Regions from separate parts of the Homo sapiens genome. Here regions 1, 2 and 3 are each linked to region 4. Evidence: promoter capture Hi-C in 16 types of primary human blood cells and fetal thymus (Javierre and others, 2016). All regions are on one chromosome and are shown on one strand. The core of a region is centred on a gene start or on the middle of the fragment in contact, and the rest is flanking DNA. Distances in the headings are between cores, read along the strand shown.

Evidence for each region. The method cuts DNA at HindIII sites, captures the fragments that hold promoters and counts their contacts. A CHiCAGO score of 5 or more calls a contact.
Region 1: a contact is called between a fragment that was not itself captured here and the fragment with the promoter of ANO6 in region 4, in 1 of 17 cell types (fetal thymus). The highest score is 5.4, in fetal thymus.
Region 2: a contact is called between a fragment that was not itself captured here and the fragment with the promoter of ANO6 in region 4, in 1 of 17 cell types (fetal thymus). The highest score is 5.0, in fetal thymus.
Region 3: a contact is called between a fragment that was not itself captured here and the fragment with the promoter of ANO6 in region 4, in 1 of 17 cell types (fetal thymus). The highest score is 8.4, in fetal thymus.

What each region holds. Positions count from the first base shown.
Region 1 is chr12:45,755,213-45,758,375 of GRCh38, forward strand. All of the region lies in intron 3 of ARID2 (AT-rich interaction domain 2), which reads left to right. Among named protein-coding and RNA genes, the nearest start is that of ARID2, 27 kb to the left of the region's middle. The HindIII fragment of the contact is 3,333 bases long and covers 1-3,069 here.
Region 2 is chr12:45,956,575-45,959,482 of GRCh38, forward strand. All of the region lies in intron 3 of SCAF11 (SR-related CTD associated factor 11), which reads right to left. Among named protein-coding and RNA genes, the nearest start is that of SCAF11, 33 kb to the right of the region's middle. The HindIII fragment of the contact is 1,158 bases long and covers 696-1,853 here.
Region 3 is chr12:45,986,520-45,989,681 of GRCh38, forward strand. The region is part of intron 1 of SCAF11 (SR-related CTD associated factor 11); the gene reads right to left. Among named protein-coding and RNA genes, the nearest start is that of SCAF11, 2.5 kb to the right of the region's middle. RefSeq lists silencers at 184-233, 3,129-3,162. The HindIII fragment of the contact is 7,512 bases long and covers 1-3,162 here.
Region 4 is chr12:45,214,515-45,217,555 of GRCh38, forward strand. ANO6 (anoctamin 6) reads left to right here and starts at 1,581. Exons shown (of 20, transcript NM_001025356.3): 1 at 1,581-1,877. The coding sequence starts at 1,808. It also overlaps the pseudogene PLEKHA8P1. RefSeq lists enhancers at 1,347-1,446, 2,457-2,586 and a silencer at 1,907-2,216. The HindIII fragment of the contact is 6,776 bases long and covers 1-3,041 here.

The DNA of each region.
Region 1 (3,163 bases), core at 153-2,652, 540 kb after region 4:
ATTTGGGGGAGGTTTTGTAGTTGTTATTTGTTTGTTTTTTAGCAGAACACTGTTTTGATGAAAGTGATGTTTTGGGAACATTAATCTTACATTGGTATGTGGGATAGGTTTGAGATAGGAGGAAGTAGTGGCAGGAATGGCAAACACACCTGCCCAGCTTGGTCAGAGAATGAGATTATTTTTATAGAATATTAAGATAAATGTGAACTAATACTTCTTTAAAAATACTAGACAAGGAAGTCACATTCAGAAAGTACTTCAGAATCTGTGGTATCTTTAGGCTTATCGTTGTAAGTATCACTTGTCATTGAACTGTTGATTTACAGAAGAACAGGTTAATAGAGAATTCTACTTACTAGGAAATTGGATAAACTGTTCTATATTTTATTTGAGTGTAGGTCCACCATTGTTCATAATCATGTAAAATTTTAGATTACATGTAGCTTATTAATTCAGTTTATCTTCTTCCTCTGTGCTGGAAGGAACTTTTTACAACTTCATCTCTGAGCTCACTTTTTTTTTAAACAAGCTCTGGAACTCAGCACTTCTCTCTGAATAATTTGGCAACATTGTCTTCTATTCTTCTGAACCATGTGAGATAGAGCCTAGTGGGATAAGTATATCTACAAATGACAGAAACAGGCTGAACAGAAGATAGATACACATATTTGAAACCTTCAGAGTTCTTTAGAATACTTTTTGTTTTTTCTTGTTACAGAGTCTCACTCTGTCACCCAGGCTGGAGTGCAGTGGCGTGAAGTCGGCTCACTGCAACCTCTGCCTCCCAGGTTCAAGCGATTTTCGTGCCTCAGCCTCCGGAGTAGCTGGAATTACAGGTGTGTGCTGCCACGCCTGGCCAATTTTTGCATTTTTAGTAGAGATGGGGTTTCACCATGTTGGCCAGGCTGGTCTCGAACTCCTGGCCTCAAGTGATCCTCCTACCTCAGCCTACCAAAGTGCTGGGATTACAGGCATGAGCCAACGCGCCCAGCCTAGAATACATTTTCTAACTTTGGATATTCCTGGACACACATTTGTGTGGCTAGTGCATGTGGTTAAGAAAAAGGGACTGTTCAGGAAAGATACTTGGGAGTGGGGAGAATTATCTACTGGGATGTACTTAGCATCATATCTTATTAAAATTCTTCTGGAAGGGCTTTTTTGTTACTTAGAATCTTATTTTAACATTAAGCTGATTTGATTTGGTTTGGACATTTCTATATTTTTTCCCTTTAGAAGTGATTTTTAAATAGCTATCACAAAGGTTGAGACTAATAAAAATTGCTTCCACTCTAACTCACCTTCAATTAATATGCAAAGAATATGTAACTGACAACATTGCAACCACAATTAGAGGACAGATATTCTCAAATGATGAAAATCCAGCATTTAGAATGAAGTTAATTTTTCCCAAACTTCCCTACCTGTAACATTCAAGGCATGGGTTTGCTTTTGCTTAGAAGAGTGGAGGAGGCTGGGCACAGTGGCTCATGCCTGTAATGCCAGCATTTTGGCAGGCTGAGGCGGGAGGATTGCTTGAGCTATGTGTGGTGGCATGCGCCTTTAGTCCTAGCTACTTGAGAGGCTGAGGTGGGAGGATCCCTGGAGCCTGGGAGGTTGAGGCTGCAGTAAGCTGGCATAGTGCCACTGCACTCCAGCCTGGTCAACAGAATGAGACTCTGCCTCTAAAAAAAGAAAAAAAAGAGCAGAGGCGGTTGTAATATAAACAAAATGTGGAGCTCTTTTCATGGTATTCACAGCAAGTTCAGGAATAGTCTCCTTGCAATGCAAGGAGTATTCATCTTTGTAAACTGCAGCCTGAATTAAGGGAAAAATCTCAGCTTGTTCCTTTCTCTGAATCATTATTATAAGGAAAAGGAGTTTAAGCTCCTAATGAAGTATCAAATCCCCTTTCATTGTACAATTTTGGATGATTGACTAAGGACTGGTTTTCTTTGCAAAGATCCCTAGGCCAGCATTCCCAAACTGTTAAGTAGGTGGACTGTGGAAAATGTGTTCTGTACTTAAATACTATTTGGAAAAACAGTTAAACATCGTTCTTTTCTGCAACACTTCTCAAACTAATATGCTTATAATGTATCTTCTGACTGTCCACAGAATTTCCCAAACACATTTGAGCACATATTGTCCCATCTCTTCCCACTCCTGACCTCACCAGCCCCTAGCATACGTATCACTCACAGGGTAAATGTGAAGTTTTAGGAAATGTTGCCGTCAGTACACAAACTTGCTAGATAAAATGGACCCAACTGGGATAGTCTTGAAAAATGTTTAACTTACTGAGACAGATGTGAAAGCCCATTGCCCTTCTAGTTCTGGGATGATTGATCATGATCACAGAGAGCTTGATTGAGAAAAAAGGAGAAGCCAAGTTTTAGTGGAATTTATTTAGAATGCACTAGAAGAGTAAAAACAGTTAACATTCATTACTAGGGCATAGTAGGGTGCCTTGAGAGGAGTCGTTTAAAAAAGTCTGAAGATTATGAACCCTGATTAGTGAATTAGCAAATATTTCATACGGTTAGTTCTTAGGATTAGATTTCAACACTTCAGTGCAAATTCTTCACACTTTTGTCATGTGAATGCAGTTTGAGAATGCATTTCAATTAGATCTGTAAGTTGTTGAATTATCTTTTATTCTTGAACTGGTGGAATAGACATGGTGCTTGCTTCAATTATCCGTTAACTCCAGTATTTCTCTAAATATTTGCTGTCCAATATTTTCTAATAAATTCCTTTAGGTGAATATGCAAAGATCACAAAAATGAATAGTCATTTATGAATTCCCTGTGAAGACAAAAGGATTCTTTGAGACAACAAAGCGATTTTTCGAGACAACAAAGTTTTGTTTCTCTGGAACCTAAATAAGCAGGATGCTTACAGTTTCTCGACATATTACATACTTTTTTCTTGAGAAAAATGTAAAAGATAAATAGGTGGGCATTTTTTATGAAATTATTAATATGGAAAACAAACATTAAAGGCATTTCATTAAGTAAGGGTAGATTTAGTCCAACTTCATAGACTTTCTAATAACTCTATACAACAAGCTTGTCCAACATGCAGCCCCGTGGGCTGTATGAGGCCCAACACAAGTTTGTAAACTTTCTTAAAACATTATGACATTTTTTTTTGTGCGATC
Region 2 (2,908 bases), core at 25-2,524, 740 kb after region 4:
ATTCAGGAGTGTATCCCTAAAGGACAAATGGCTGTCAGTGATAAAATTAACCCCCAGTAAGAACACATTTCATCAAACTACTTAAAATCCTTTCATGTTCTCCAAGATACCAGTTGGGGAGAATTACATGTAATCTTAATTTATTCTGACAATAGGCAACACTTTATCTAGTGTAAAAACAAGAAACTCAGTAAACTACCCATACAGATCATTTTACATATTCTGACATTTAAAACTAGGCACAAAGAAATGCATGTTAATTTACCTTACTGGTAAACAGAGTACTTAAATTCTTTTAGATATATGCTTTAGGTGATGGGTGTTCACAATGCAAAAATCCTCTTTGCTCTACTAAAAAATTTCCCAAAGGATTAATTCACAGGGTGAAAATAGTGGTGGATCTGAAAAAATTAGCTACAAGTTAAAGTTCTTGTGGAGCTAGCAATCACTCCAACCCACACTAAGGATGAAGATGGAGAGAGCCCTGATCATCTATTGCATAGGCGTAATAAATTTAAAAAATGTATCTGACAATACTTTATAAATTATAAATGACTAATGTTAGTGGTACTACACAGGTACATTTACATTACCGTTCACAGAGAGCTACATAACAGAGGTGTCTGGGTTAGTTCTGGTTAATTTTTTTAAAATTAGAATTTGAGGAAAAATTGATTGAAAATTCCAGATAATAAAGCTTTACTGAATTATATTACTTAAAAGTAGTCTAACAACCAGAATGGACAAATTTCCACCTACTGCATAAAGAAACACCTGTATATAAAACACATGTGCAGTCCAGATATAAGTCAAGAACTCACATCTTGATTTTTTGGTATTTATTATTAATTCAAAAATATAACCTTCACCTATGTTGAACACTATTGTTTGACTTCTTCAAGAACTGCATGTCACCTTAATAAGACACTTCATTTCTAGTTTAGGAGAGAAACCATGCCTTTGCCAACTGCCGAATTTTGATTTCATTAACCTTTACTCTCTCATACTGAAGCTGTTGGCATTTTATACAAAATGGGTGATTTTGTATAAAATGGAGGGAGAATAATCTGCTTATAATGGGAAACTAATCACATTTTTAAAAATAATACTTAAAAGATAAGGGAAATATTTTATATTATGTAAAAGGGAAAAGAATGCCAGCAGATATCAAGAACATCCTCATCACATATACTGCAGGTTCCATTAAACATTGTTAAGAACTCTTAAATGCTTTAAACATGTGTCTTCAAACCATGACCTTATTTTAAGGGCCAAATTTTTAATCACTTCTCGGCAACTGTGGGAAATAATGATTCCTACTTTCTCTCTTTTTTTTGAGATAGGGTCTTATTTTGTCACCCAGGCTGAAGTGCAGTGGCATAATCACAGATAAATGTAGTCTCGACCTCCCAGGCTCAAGTGATCCTCCAACCTCCCCCCATCAGCTTCCCAAGTAGCTGGGACTACAGGCATACTCCACCATGCCTGGCTAATTTTTTTTTTTTTTCCCAGTAGAGATGAGGTCTCACCATGTTGCCCAGGCTGGTCTTAAACTCCTGGGCTCGAGTGATCCACCCTCCTTGGCCTCCCAAAGTGCTGGGATTAGAGGCGTGAGCCATCATGCCTGGCCAATAAATCCCATTTACTTAACCTGTGTGTGTTTGTATGTGTTGGAGATTATCTTGTCTGTAGGAAATCATAATTGTCACTACTACAATGTGTGTCAAGACTTCTCTGTCCTTTACCTTCCTAAAGTATGCAAACTCAGATATATTAAAAGCTATCAATAAGTATATATTGTTTTTGCCCACAATATGGGTAAAATAAATAACTTCCTAACTGAATAGATGATAAGCTTTAGCATACTGGCTCTATATACATTTCATCAGTTCAAATGTCTTTGATTAATTTTAGATTGTTGGATCTAACAGTTATGGTTTAAATTAACAAAAATTTCAGCCTTCCTTAATGTCAATTATTGTGTCATTGTTCAATATTCTATTTCTATATAATCATCATTATTTTATAAATCAACAGGTTTACCATCTATGAATTCCTTGAAACTAAATATAATCATAGTGGACATGATTAATTTCAATTTGTTCTAGTGTCCCTAAGGGCAGGCAATTAGGCTATGGGCCATGAAGGCTACCACAGGTTCACCCTGAAACATTTTGCCCTAAGTAAAGAGGATTCTGACATACCCAAAGACTTTTTACTTAATCACTTTAAAGTCCTTACATAGCTTTTGTTTAAATAACCACAGAACCAAAATTTTAGAGCTTGAAAAGACTGAAACTAACTTTGATCTATGTGGCCAAAATAAATATACTAGACTACGACACACTTTAATTTTTCAAAACACCAGTTTCTTACAGACCAGTGTTTTTAAGAATGTGTTCAATGCCTAAAATATTAAGGTGAAAGTAAATAAATGAGTCCTTTTTTGGTGCTTGATATTCCTTCTGAATCATATTTCAGTGAACCTTGGGTACAAATCTCAGAAAGCACAGAAATTTTGAAAGATACAGAAATCTAGAAAGATGATCCTAACTGCAAATTGTACTGTTCTCTTATGCAGATTTCTCAGGAGCTGTGGCACAAGAATCGCTTGGCCTGGGAGGCAGAAGTTGCAGTGAGCCGAGATGGTTCCACTGCACTAGAGCCTGGGTGACAGACTGAGACTCTGTCTCAAATAAAAAAAAAAAAAGAAGTGAACATGCATAAAATTGTACACCACAAACCAATTTTTTAAAAAGATTTTAACGTCAGGCTATCCCTTGACGTACTTAAAAATCGTAAGTTTAGAATCCTTGTCTTGTATAGCAAATAAATATTAACATAGTGAATTAAATGAAATTAAATGTTAGAATGTGTATGACAGCCTAGGCATAAGGCATGGCCTGTT
Region 3 (3,162 bases), core at 231-2,730, 770 kb after region 4:
TTCAATACACATCACCACAATCCTAGTTTTGCCTTCTGGAACTATAAGAAATTAATATGGCTTCTAAATGACAACATTTTTAACAATAAGATAGTTATACTGCTTGATATGGTTTGGCTGTGTCCCCACCCAAATCTCTCTTGAATTGTATTCCCATAATTCCCACGTGTTGTGGGAGCAACCTGTTGGGAGATAATTTGAATCATGGGGGCAGTTTCCCCCATACTGTTCTCATGGTAGTGAACAAGTCTCACAAGATCTGATGGTTTTAACAGATGTTTCCGCTTTTGCATCTTCCTCATTTTCTCTTGCCACCAACCACTATGTAAGAAGTGCCCTTCTCCTCCCACCAAGATTCTGAGGCCTCCCTAGCCATGTGGAACTGTAAGTCCAATTATACCTCTTTTTCTTCCCAGTCTCAGGTATGTCAGCAGCATGAAATCAGGCTAATGCACTGCTCTACTCTTAGCTGAGGCATTCTTAGCTCCTTCTATATTAAGACAAATGATAGTTTCAAGGTCACATACTGTTATACTCCTCTAAAAACACAGACCCCTTAGGCTGGGTGTGGTGGTTCATTCCTGTAATCCCAGCACTTTGGGAGGCCAAGGCGGGATGATTACTTAGCCCAGGAATTTGAGACCAGCCTGGGCACCAAAGTGAGAGCTGTGATCACACCACTGCGCTCCAGCCTGGGAGACAGCGAGATGCTATCTGAAAGCAAAAACAAAACAAACAACAACAAAAAACAAGGACCCCTGAAATGAACATGGCCCACATGCATGGATATAAGTAACTTGGCAGTTTATGCTACAGACTGAGACTTGCTTAGTCTAAAGTTTCAAACCACAATCACTATTTGTAACGTTTACAGCTGAAAGCAGGTTAATTCATTAACTTACACTGAAGGCATTGTTCAGGTGTTTAGGTGACAAATACTGACAAATGCTGATCTCACAGAAGATAAATCACAGTGAAGAAAATAAACAATAAACCTAAGTTAGATTACACAATATGTTGCAAAATGATAAATGCAATGGAGAAAAATCTAGCATAAAAACAGATACAAAATATCGGGGGAAGGCTGTTGTTTTATACACAGTAGTTAGAGAAGACCACAACAGCGTAGGGGAAAGGAGATTGGAGAAAGGGTGAGGAGATGAAGTCAGAGAGGAAGAAGAGACTTAAATCATAGAGCCTTGTAGACCATAGGAGTATGGAATTTACTATGACTGAGAAGGGAAGCCATTTGAGAAAAGAAGTTACATGACCTGACATTTTATCAGGATCACTCTGGCTATGGAGTGTTAAAGACTGTAGATCAGCAAAGGTCACAGTGACTTTTTAGGAAGATATTTTTGAAAGCAAAATAGTGGTTGTGTTTTTACGTTATGTATTGAATTTTTATGTGTCTATGTACTAGGATTTCATACATTAAGTTCATAGACACAACTTAAAAAAATACAATGCAAAGATGAGTTTTGGGAATAGCAAGAGAATGATACTGGATATTTTAACTCTGGGCTCTACTCAGCACTACTAACAGTTATTACTGCTCAGAAGCAAGACAAGGTGCAAGGTTATTAACTTATTTTGGGGGACAGAGTATAATTAAAAATCTGGATTTTAAGTTTATTTCACTGGGCAAGGTAAGTCAAGGTACAATTTACATCTTAAAAGACAAAAGCAGGTGATAGCAGGGCTTGCTAAAGGGAAGTTACAATGAAAATTATTCTACAGTTGACTTTCTTTTTATTACTTTTATGCCTGCTACTCTCTTTAATTAAGGTGCTACAACTATCTCTGATATACTTTAAAAGTTCAGTATTAAGTTGATGGGTAGTATAGTACTGTATTTTCTGATTACTAAAAGATGTTACTGATGATGAATCAACAGTATCATGTAACTGCACTGATTCATCCTATCTCTGCTGAATAAAAGCACAGGTTTTCCAGAAAACTGTCTAAGCTCTAGTTGGTGCCAAAGGACGATAGAGAGCTAAGTAACTCCTGAAAAGTTTCGATCTTAACACACTAGCCCTATTACCACATGAAGGTATTAACAGAAAAAATTAAAAAATTATCCGTAAAATTTTCTCCATGACATGTTTTCTGGCAACATATTTAGAAACTTTAAATTTTCTTCTACAGTTTTCTTCCCCTTTATACTGAAGAATGTCTTTAAAGCATGAGTATACTTACAGTAAGCAAACATTCAAATTTTACCCCAGTGAAATCTTAAAATGTACTCAAACTCTCAGGCAAAAAGTTCACTATCTGAATGTGAAAAACTGAATGACTGTTAAAATATCTGCAAGCACCAAAAAATATTATAGCTAAAATGCAGCTACCCTAAGAACTGTTTTTAAAAAACTCACATTGCATAAAAAATATAAATTCAGATTATCCGATAGGATAATATAAAACAAAAGAAATCCAAAGACAGTTTCAAGATTTCATTTCTCTTGCTTAGTTAAAACAACAAAAACAAAAGGCCCATGAACTTTTTCTTGCATCTTTTAACCAAAATAGTGACATGATCAAGCCAACTGCCAAAGAAACAGGAAAGAGAAAGCAATTGTTTAGAAACAGACTTGATTACATGTCAAAATTTTAATACAATTACTAATAAAATACAAAAACCAACCGTTATTTTAAAATGTACTGCCCTGATATTCTGCTGCTGAGGTAGGTGGTGATATGTAGAAATTAATTTTTCTTTTAAAACGAAAAAATAATGCATTTATTAATATGCTTTTCCCAAAATTCGGGGAAAATTCCCAAATCGGAGAAAAAAATTTAACATCAGCATCTACTACACAAAGCATTAAAAACATTTTTCAGCAGTTTTGCTTAAGTATCTTAGGTCAGTGGTAGCATGTTAGCCAAAATGTAATCCAAAATGAATGAACAACAGTCAGCTGGTAGACACTGTATGTAATACAATACGGAAATATATTGGAAGTATTTCAAAATTCAACATTTGAATCCGTGAATGTCTAAATCAAGTACTCTAAATCAGGCGTCTACTTTTGAAACAATACTTCAAAATACGTGTTGGTGGCAAGACCGCCAGCCATCTGTAGGAAATCTTTTTAATGGTTCAAAATTCCTAGGTCTCAGAAGGGGCGACTGATTAGGCTAAATTTATATCTCCCGGCC
Region 4 (3,041 bases), core at 331-2,830:
GGAGAGTGTTCAGTGAAAGGAAACAATCTCTTCTCATCTTTCTTCTCCCATCATTTTTTTCTCCTATCTTCAGAGTACTGTATTGTTGTCTCTTTATACTAAAAACAATTCTGTTTATTCAAAAAAAGTACCTCAAGAAGCAAGTATAGTGTTTCCCAGGTATTTTCTTAAAAGTAATTTCATCATGTCTTTTCATGTATATATTCATGTCTATTTTCCCACTTAAGATTGGTCCCAATGTTTTCTTTCTTTCAGAGAGAACATTAAAAATGTTAGGAAACTGAGGTGCAAGGATTGCTGGAGGCCAGGAGTTCGAAACCAGCCTGGGCAACATAGTGAGACACCCATCTCTACAAAAAAATTTAAGAATAAGCCCCACATGGTGGTGTGCTCCGCTTGTAGTTCTAGTTACTGAACTCCCACCTCGGCAACAGAGCGAGACCGTCTTAAAAAAAGTATGTGGAAGAAAAAACATGCACAGTAGATTTAGTGTTATTGTGATAACCCTAGCACTTCAGTGGAAAAAATATAAACAATTTCAATGAGTAGACAATAACACATATAACCAAGATTTCAAATATACCTTCTAGCCCTTTTGAGAAGTCAAAATTGAACAACCTGAATGTACCAGCTTTTTTGAAAAAAGTTTTGTAGACACGCGATCCCCAAAACCTGCCGTTCAAACAACTCCAAGGGTCTTTAAAGTACTAAATCCCTTTGTATTTGTCCTATCGGTCCCTTTGGTTTCCAGGAAAGCATTAAAAATAAAAATAAAAACTCTCTGCCTTAATTTTATTTCACGACTTTCTTTTCTCTTATTATAGCTTTCCACATTGCTTTAGAAGAGTTTACATCTAACTCTAGTGGTCTTCGGCTTCTTCTCCCTCTTTGACACAGAGGACTAGTTTCAATTGTACAAATAGGCTGGACGCTTCAGCGATTATCTTCCGACCACTCCCTGTGTGCTCGCGCGGGCGGAGTAGGGGGCGCTTCTCCACTCTCCGCGACCTCAATGTATGCGGAAATCCTCCTGCCTTTGTGCACACGTTTATTTAGAAAATTCTCTCCACCCCCACTCCCGTCCGTCCCGCCCCTTCTTCTTTTGCTTATTCTCTGAGTTTTGCCTCTCCTCCCACCCCGACTCCACCGTAATCTTAACCTACCCGTACAGATTCCACTTTCCCACTTCGGAGCTAGAGTAATTTAAGATCCCCCCATTATTAGCTCCACGTCGCCTTTAAAAGCCATTCAAACGAGTTCGCCTTCCAGGGTTCTGCAGTTGTGCTGCAGCAGCATTTCCCTCCTCTCCAGTATCAGACGTTAAAACAAAGCAAGCCACAGTGTGTGTCCACAGACGACCTTGGAACGAAAAGCTGCCCTGTTTGGGATCAATGCTCAGGGAACCCAGTCCACTCCCGCACTCACGTGTTCCCGCCTTGCCCTCCAGCTAGTTCCCCCGCGCGCAGGATCGCACTACTCCCTCTGCAGTCTCGCCTGCCGACTTCCTTCTGCGCGCCTCGTAAAACCGGGGAAGTTCAATCATTCCGCAGCGAGCCGCGGCGGCCGCACTGGGCATGCTCAGTCTCCGGGCTCCGCTCGGCAGGCGAGAGGCGTCCTCCGGCTCTGGGCTCCGGTCGGTGGGTGCCTCGGCTCGGCTTTCCCCGGCGCTGGCTGGGCTCAGCGGCCCCTGAGCCCAAGCGACACACGCCCCGCGGTCCCCGATCCGGCCCCTGGGAGAGCCGCGCCGTTCTGGAACCCGGGAGCCCCCAACTTCGCGCCAAGTTCGGAGCCGCCTTCTGAGGGAGACATGAAAAAGATGAGCAGGAATGTTTTGCTACAAATGGAGGAGGAGGAGGACGACGACGATGGGGATATCGGTGAGCGAGGGGTCCCCGCGTCCCCACCCGAGAGCCCGAGCCGACGCGGGAAGAAGTTCGGGGACTGCGCGGGGGCGCTGTGCTCTCCGCGGGGGAGGTTGGCCGAGACGCTCGGCCGCTCCGGGCAGGGGAGGAAGCCCGCTGTCCCCGGCTGCTTGCAGACTGAGGCCCCGGTGCGGCCCCTGCGGGGCTGAGGCGCGGGGCGCGTGGTGGCCCCGAGGACAGGCTCCTGACGGGCGGGGGATGCTGCCCCTGAAAAGCCTGGCAGCTGCGGGGACGCCTCTGCGTGCGGAAGTCTCCACTCAGAAGCAACTTTGGGGTCACTTCCCCGACTCGCAGAGTGCTAGGGTTGCCCAGGAGCCTCGGCACTGGGGCGAGCCCCCTGGGCGGGGTCCGGGGAGCAGGCCCGCATTTGGAGGACAGGGTGTGACCCATCTGAATCCTCGTTAAAGTAAAAGCCGACCGACGGCTCTGGGAGGTTTGAGGCCTGGCGGGGCGGCCCCGGGAAGTGATTTGTGGCCGCTAGGCGCGCGCTGGAAACCCTTTCCCATCTGCGGAGCCCACCGGAGCTGTGATCGGAGGAGGAATTCCCCCAGGCAGGGAGGACCGCAGGGCCTTTTTCACTCGTCCTGAGGGGCCCTGGGGCTTGGGGAGCAAACCTGGGGTGACCCATTTCTAGTTAGAGTTAAAAATGCATGGAAGTGACAAGACGAACGGAGGGAGAGCTGTTTTAAGAGCAAAAAAAGAAAAAAAGGGCAAACAAAAGGGATGAGAGGAGGTGAGGAAGGGGAAAGGAATGAGAGGACTAGAGAGAAAATCAGGTCCCTAAAGAGAACACTGTCGGGGGATGATGATATAATGTGTCCCTCCAGAAGACTCTAATTAAATTACCAAGCCAGTCTGTTGTGGCGACTCGGCTTAGTCTCCTGGATGCCAAATCAATTTTAAAGCAGAACATCCTGCTGATGTTCTAAAGCCCTGTTGTTATCTAATAACTTTAAAAGTAACTTAATTTTAGGAGTTGGGTGTGGTTTTTATTTCTGTTACATTTTGGGCACGGAATATTTCGATCAAAAAAATTTGGTAACTTCTTGGTTGTCCAGGGACAAATCGAATAGAGGAGATTACACTCCATGATTTAGTTTCACATTTCATTCATTCATT